Regions from separate parts of the Homo sapiens genome. Here region 1 is linked to region 2. The links are contacts of gene promoters, found by promoter capture Hi-C in human tissues and cell types (Jung and others, 2019). All regions are on one chromosome and are shown on one strand. The core of a region is centred on a gene start or on the middle of the fragment in contact, and the rest is flanking DNA. Distances in the headings are between cores, read along the strand shown.

Evidence for each region. The method cuts DNA at HindIII sites, captures the fragments that hold promoters and counts their contacts. A contact is called where the count stands out against the background at its distance.
Region 1: a fragment that was not itself captured here is called in contact with the fragment with the promoter of LTV1 in region 2 in 1 of the 25 tissues and cell types used here (aorta).

What each region holds. Positions count from the first base shown.
Region 1 is chr6:143,894,446-143,898,301 of GRCh38, forward strand. All of the region lies in intron 4 of ZC2HC1B (zinc finger C2HC-type containing 1B), which reads left to right. Among named protein-coding and RNA genes, the nearest start is that of ZC2HC1B, 32 kb to the left of the region's middle. The HindIII fragment of the contact is 3,121 bases long and covers 254-3,374 here.
Region 2 is chr6:143,841,499-143,845,176 of GRCh38, forward strand. LTV1 (LTV1 ribosome biogenesis factor) reads left to right here and starts at 1,840. Exons shown (of 11, transcript NM_032860.5): 1 at 1,840-1,982; 2 at 2,988-3,119. The coding sequence starts at 1,980. RefSeq lists enhancers at 1,644-1,693, 1,874-2,083, 2,274-2,343. The HindIII fragment of the contact is 16,427 bases long and covers 1-3,678 here.

The DNA.
Region 1 (3,856 bases), core at 564-3,063, 53 kb after region 2:
AATAGGTGCATTTAGTTGTGTGTAAATTATTCCTCAAAAAGACTATTTAAGAAAGTGCAAAAACAAAAAGCCACAGTGTAGTCATACTATAAAATCATCTGAAAAATATGTCATCTGAACTTCTATACCAGAAAATAATCCTCATATTTGCTTCCCTTTTATTGAGTGCTAATGAAAATATATCTTGAAATAATGTGTTGTCTTAAGATATTCAGTAGAAAGATCTGTGCTGTGATTTTAGTAATAATGTAAGTACTTTGGCAACAAGTTTCATATAACAAAAAACATCTTTTATGAGAAATATATTCATTTTAAGATTAGAAACTACAGGGTTGATGGCTACCTTATGGTTCTTTAATTGAATAAGTGAAACCATGTCAGATGTCCTGCTGTGTGAATTTCTCTCACATTTTAGATCCAACTTGGATCTAACCGTGACTTGGATCTAAAATGTGGGGATTATTGTTTCTCTAAAAAAAATTCCTTTTGTAAGTCCTCACCAAATGTTCAATTTATTTTTCTTTGTATTTCTATGCTAACACATAATTTTATAATTAACTTCTTTCTTGTGTCCTTAACATAATTTTATGCAACAAACCAAATGATTATATGCACTCCCAACATTTTCACCACGGTTTGATGATTTTGTTTGTGCAAGGATTTTATATTAGCCCAGAATTCTCAGGCTTAAGTTCTAGAGAATTTATTTGTTTTTTGTTGTTGTTGTTGTTTTTGAGACAGAGTTTTGCTCTTGTTGCCCAGACTGGAGTGCAATGGCAGGACCTCGGGTCACTGCAAACTCCGCCTCCCAGGTTCAAGCAATTCTCCTGTTTCAGCCTCCTGAGTAGCTGGGATTACAGGCGCCCGCCACCACGCCCAGCTGATTTCTGTATTTTTAGTAGAGATGGGGTTTCATCATATTGGTCAGGCTGATCTTGAACTCCTGACCTCAGGTAATGCACATGCCTCGGCCTCCCAAAGTGCTGGGATTACAGGCATGAGCCACTGCACCCGGCCAGTACTAAAGAATTTATATACATATAACTAGAGTTATATATAACATGGCCTAACATGCATGAATGTGCCAGTAATTTCCCTTTTTTCCTCAGCATGATTCCCTATTTTCATGATTCAGTTTTTGAGACATGCCTATATTCTACTTTTTAGTGACTTAGCTAAGTCTGTCAATGATTTAAATTTCTAGGATACTGTGACAGTTTATGGGGACAGTGATATAGAATATTTATAATTGTTATTTTTCTATGAGGCCTGGGACATTCAGTTACCATTTTGCATAGCTACATAGACACGGATACACAGCACAATATTGGCATTTTAAAATAATGCTTGGTTTTCCACTTTTCTCTGAGATCTGGCCACCATATTCCTCGAAAGAATTCATTTGGACTCTGACTTTTAAAATCATTACCTATTGAAATAAATAGGACATGGTGATTTTATGAAAACATTATTGATAGAGGAAGAGAGGTGACTCCGATTGAGCTGAGTGTAGAACATGTAGCTCAGTTATGCTGGGTTCAGATTATTGTTGCAGAAAATACAACAATTCTCAAAATATGTGAAGTTCAACATAAATAGAAATCAGCAACCTTGAATGCTCAGCCACAGGACTCTCTCCTGCCTGCTCTCTGCCCCTCTGGTGGGGCCTTATGTTCCTTCTGTAGGGTCCCAGAGGCCCTAGTGCCTCTTCTTCTACAGTTTATCCCACCAAGCAGTAATTGTCTGTTTGCCTAATCATCTCTGAGATTTTCATTGGCAGGGAAATAGACTTCAACTTTGCTGTCTCCATGGTGATATGTAGTACCAAACACAGAAGGGTGGCAGTGAGTGAATGAGCAAGTGGGATTAAGGAAGCAACTCAGTATTGCCATGATCATTGTCTTTGCCTAATGTGAGTAGGGTTTATGGTTGCAGCATTTCTTATGTAAGACTTCACTTTCCAGCTGGCAAAATTGAAGAAATAACCACCAAGCTAAAAGCCATGTTCTAGATGGTTCTTCTAAACCATTGTAAATGAATTCTGAATGATAATGGCACTTTCTATTGTACTTTTTTCCTAGGCAGTTTCACTTCTATTTGGTAGTTGGAAACACAACCTTGCTGAACCTGTTTCCTTATAGCAATAGCTAGCATTTACAAAACATTTAGTATGTTCCACCCCGCCCACTGTGCCAGGCCCTTATGTGGATTTTCATAGTTAACTTTCACAACAACCCGATGAAACAGGTGATATGTAGGTGCTGGGAAAATGGAAGCTTAAGGAGGTTGGGTAACTTGCCCGAGTTCACACACATAGCAAGTAAAGAACTCAGGCTCAAAACCAGTCAGGCAAGCTCCAGCACTGGGCTTTTTATCATTTCCCAATGCTGTCCTGTTCTATTTTTTTTCAAGGCATTTATCTCCGTGTGAAATTTTTATTTATTTGTTTCTGTGCTAGAATGCTTACTCCTTGATTTCAGAGACATTGCATCCCCAGGTGTAAGACAGCACCTGGCACCAAGTAGATGCTCAGTCAGTGTTAAATTAATGATGAGGTACTGCCTTCTGGATGGAGTAAGAAATAAAGGATAAGGCTACCAGATAATTCCTAAGTGCTTAACAATTGTTACATCTTATGAATATACATTTTAGGAAATGATTTGTTCAAATAGGAAACTCCCCAAACTGCTTAAAAAGGTGGCTTACAAAAAATTCTTAACATCACTACATGAAATACCCATCCACGCATGTAGGAATTTTGACTATACACTAACACAAGTTCTACACTGAGTTTGAGGTTGATGCAGTTTCACACCCTTCCTGGGGTCGGGGCGGTGGGATTATTTTATGTTGCTGATATCTAGTGTGCTATCCCTTTAAGGTGCCTGAAACAAAACAAAGCAAACACCAATCCCTGCTTGATTTAGAGGGGTAGTTGCCAACCTAGTTTTGCTATGAGCAGCTCCACATTCTAAGAAGATCTTGCCTGTTTCCCACTTCTCATTTCTCTCCGTAACCAATTATGTCTGTTAATTGCAAATGAAAGAAGAAAAAAAAGATATTATACAGAACCACAGAGAACCTGGGGCCGACAGGAGCTGCCTGGGCCATTGCATCTCTGGAAGCTGAAGCTGTTTTCGGTGAACTTTCCTATCATCCCTCCTTCTTTCCCTTTTCTGTTTTTTGAGTCCTCACCTTTTATCCTATTACTATCTCCTTCCTGAATATATTGCCTGCTCACTTAGTAGTTAAGTGAAAAAAAAAATCTAGCCACTGCAAAAGCAGTATGTCTTTCTGCCAGTGACACAGTCCCATTGACTTCCATTCATATCTCCCAAACCCACATTTTGAAACATCCCATCTCCCTCTGTAACTCTGTAACTTCTCTAAGACCCACCCAGCACTACAACCTATGCTTTTGAATATTCTGTGCCCTACTGTGCCATCAATACTAACATTCTGTGATTCTAGAACTACTTTCTTTACACAGGATTTACTAAATAATTCATTTCATTGAGAAGTTCTTAAGATTAATTTTCTTTGTTTTTCTGGAAAAGTACATCACTTAAACATTTCAAGGACAGACAATTGAAATGAATGCACAGGTTGTGACATTTTTCCATGCCATGTCCTTTAGTTGAGCCCTGCATGTCTTGCCCTTTGGAATAGTCTCAAACCAGAGTTTGGGACCTTGTTCTTTCATGTTGGAGCAGAGTTCATATCATTACTTACATATTTATTTATTTACTTATTTGAAATAGGGTCTTGTTCTGTTGCCCAGGCTGGAGTGCTGTGGCATGATCACAGCTGACTGCAGCCTTGACCTTCTGGGCTCAAGCTATCCTCTCAAGTGGCT
Region 2 (3,678 bases), core at 590-3,089:
ATGTCAAAAGGTGAAGTAGAGGCCAATAAAACCCTTACTGTGCCTGCTCCGTAGATTGGCCAGAACCATTCCATAGTGGGTAGTCTGTTACGCACAAAACGGAGGGCAGCAACAGGCTGATATCAGTGGTGGAGTCTTTTGAAAGGGATGGTTTCTATTTATCCCTTAGGGAAGAAAGCCTGATCCTGGTTAGTGAGGGAGGGGATATAACAAGGCAAAGCAAGAACTCAGTTTTCAAGGTTACTCTGGGTCCCCTTGGCCAAAAGGGAGTCCGTTCAGTCAGCTGGGGGGCTTAGTACTTAGTTTGTATTTCTCTTGCCTCATTTTTAGGATTTGTAAGATGCTGAAGATAATTGCGTCTCTTTCATAGTGTTGCAGTGAGGATGAAATGAGATGATTCAGATAAAGTGCCAGAACATTAATTCATTTAAATAAATACTTACTGAGCATATATGCCCCATGCATCAGGCCCCTGATGATACAGCAGTAAGTACAACTGATTGAAAGGAAATGAAAACTGCCCCCTTGGATCTTTTAATTCTATATAATGAATAATAACAACGAATCTCTGGCACATAGGAGTGCTATGTATTATCTCTGTTACAAAGCAATATCCTAAGACAAGTTTTATGGTCCTAACCTAAATTATTTCTATATATATATATTTTTGAGACAGAGTTTCGCTCTTGTCGCCCAGGCTGGAGTGCAATGGCATGATCTCAGCTCACTGCAACCTCTGCCTCCCGGGTTCAAGCTATTCTCCTGCCTCAACCTCCCAAGTAGTTGGGATTACAGGCACCTGCCATCACACCTGGCTAAGTTTTGTATTTTTAGTAGAGACGGGGTTTCACCACGTTGGCTAGTCTGGTCTTGAACTCCTGACCTCAGGTGATCCACCCGCTTCGGCCTCCCAAAGTGCTGGGATGACAGACATGAGCCACCGCGCCTGGCCTATTTCTATAATTTTTACTGTAATAAAAGAATAATACTCCACAAATACTTACAGTGATAATGCCTACGGCATAAAGACACAATCCAGGGTAAGCCATTCATTGAGAGGTCACCAGAAACTGGGAAGTTGGGGAAACAAATTTGAAAAAAAGGTCTGCTGATGAAAGTGACTGCATTTACCACACACTTTCGTCCAAGAAAAGCTATGTGAGTACGCCAACGCCGGCCTGAAATCTTCCTAAGAATGCGTGCTTATAGCCTATTTGTTTAAACAGGGGGAGAAAGTTAACATTCAAACACCAGAGATTCTGAATATATTTTATTAGTTCAAATGCCTCTACAGTTAACAGAGTCTCGGGGGTTTGGTTAACAGGGCAGATGAAAGCAGTTCATGAAACAGTGGAAAATATAACCTGATCAAGTCTGATGCAGTCTATAAAGGCAAGGCCCCAGCCTCCGTTGCTACGGCAACCGACTCCGCCCCCACCCGGAGAGGGAACCTGAAACTTGGCGACCCCAGCACCCCAGCGGGGTGGTCGCCTCCCTTCCGTGTCCGCGGCTTTGTTTTTTATGGTTGGGAATAGGTAAGGGACACAAGTCAAGGGGGATGCTAGATTCGTCCCCTCTGGTCTCCGTAGAGGGAGCTATAAAAGGTTCGTCCACAAGCAGAAACCCCTCTGTGGCGCCTCAACGTTAAGGACCCCCACGATTCCCTTTGCCCGGCGGGAGACTAAAGGCCGGAAAAGTACAGCCCGCCCAGGGGTGGGAGCCGAGCTAGCCCCACCTCCCGGTGGCTTCTCGCGATCGTGGAGACGCAGCGAGCCTATGTAACTTCCGGTCGCGACCCATCAGCTCCTCGGCGATTGGTCCGTTTCCACGGCCGGCTGGGTGACGTTATCGCCGGGTCCTGGGGCTGCACGTGTGGTGAGGCCTACAGAAGCGGCCTTCAGCTGGACCTTGGTCTCCCCGCCGGACTTCGAGGGTGTCATCGCCGCCCCTGTTGGGGGTGAGCGCCGCGCGGCTGCAGCATGGTGAGCAAGCCTTGCTTGTTTCGGCGGCCGAGCGCTGTGGTTTTGCAGAGGCCAGGCTGCTTCCGGTAATACCTTGGCTACTGCGGCCCGGGTCTGGGTCATGCCAGAGGCTGCTTGCGGCACGGTACCCCGAAATGGGCCAACGTCACCACCGTGGGCATTCTTTGCAAGTTACAGTCTCCCACCGCCGAGCCTCCCTGGGATGTGGCCCGGAGAGGAGAATGGCCTTTTTGTTTTATCCCTGGGAGCCTGCAGCCCTGCGTGATTTCGGTTAACTAAAAGCTGGTGACTGCCGACACAAACGCGCAACCCTGTGCTTCTTGGGGTCGAGCAGAGGGAGCTGCTGGTCTCCCTCAGCGTTGGAGTGGCAGGTGTCTGCCTGTCTGTTTCCTCTGAGAAAGGGAACTTGTGGGAGAGCATAAGGTTGGGCCCAAAGTAAAGCCACTTAATTGGTTTCCCAGTTTAGAGAATCAAAATTGAATAGCGAAGTAAGAATGTAGAAAGAGGTGATGGATCTTATTAAACTTTAGCTGTTTGTGTCGTGATTTTATTTACTGGTTGGTAGATGCTCTGTGTGGAGCTGTCTACTCCAGATTATGTTGTGGCAGGCTTCTTGTCATTCTAGTTCAGTCGGCCAGGGGCCTTCCCTGAGCAGCCAGTGTAAAGTAGCTTTTAAGGCATTTTCACGTCACTGTCTTATATTTTCTTCACCGGAAATTATCTTGATTTTCTTGCTAAGAACAGGGACTTTATCTGACTTTCCCACTTCTGTATTCTCAGTTCCCATAACAAGGTCTGGCACAAAGTAGGTGCTCAAGGAATGTTTGTTGAAGGAAGGTTAAGTATGGATTCTGCAGAACACAGCTGATGTTGCCTGCCCTAGAAGTGTAGATTTTTAAAAAGTATCTTTAACATGACTACTAAAGATGCATGTGTGGACTATGGAATTATTCTCCGTCTTTTTGTTCTGTTTTAATTAATTGTTGTGATTTTGTTCCTTTGAAGCCTCACAGGAAGAAAAAGCCCTTTATAGAGAAGAAGAAAGCTGTGTCTTTTCACTTGGTCCACCGGAGCCAACGAGATCCTTTAGCAGCAGATGAGAGTGCACCCCAGAGGGTTCTATTGCCCACACAAAAAGTAGGTCCTGTTCTTTAGCCAGTCAGTTTGTAGGTAGACAATAGTTTTTTTTTTCTTTTTTTTTTTTTAAATAAATAGAGTCTTAGCACGTTGCCCAGGCTGGTCTCGAACTCCTGGACTTAAGCAGTCCTCCCAGCTTGGCCTCCAAAAGTGCTGGGATTACAGGCATGAGCCACCACGCCTTGCTATGTTAATAGTTTTTAATAAATTGTTAGCCAGCTGTTATTCTCAGATAACTGATATTCTGGGAAATAATCTATAAGTTAATTTTCAGTACAATTGGTGATTTTTACATCATTCACATTATTTTGATTGGGAAGACAAAGATCTTTATTTGAGATGTTTAAACGAGCAAATCTTGTAGAATAATGGTAAATATTTACCAAAGCACCAGCTACAATGCGGCATGATGTTATTTAGGGCACCGATATATGCTCAAACTGTGCTTTCTCTAAGATCCTGCCGTTTCATAACCGCAAACTGCATTTTGCCTCCTGCTTGCTCATCTTAGGAAATGTAAAATATCTGAGCTCCTTGGTTAGCTCAGGGAACTTTGCAA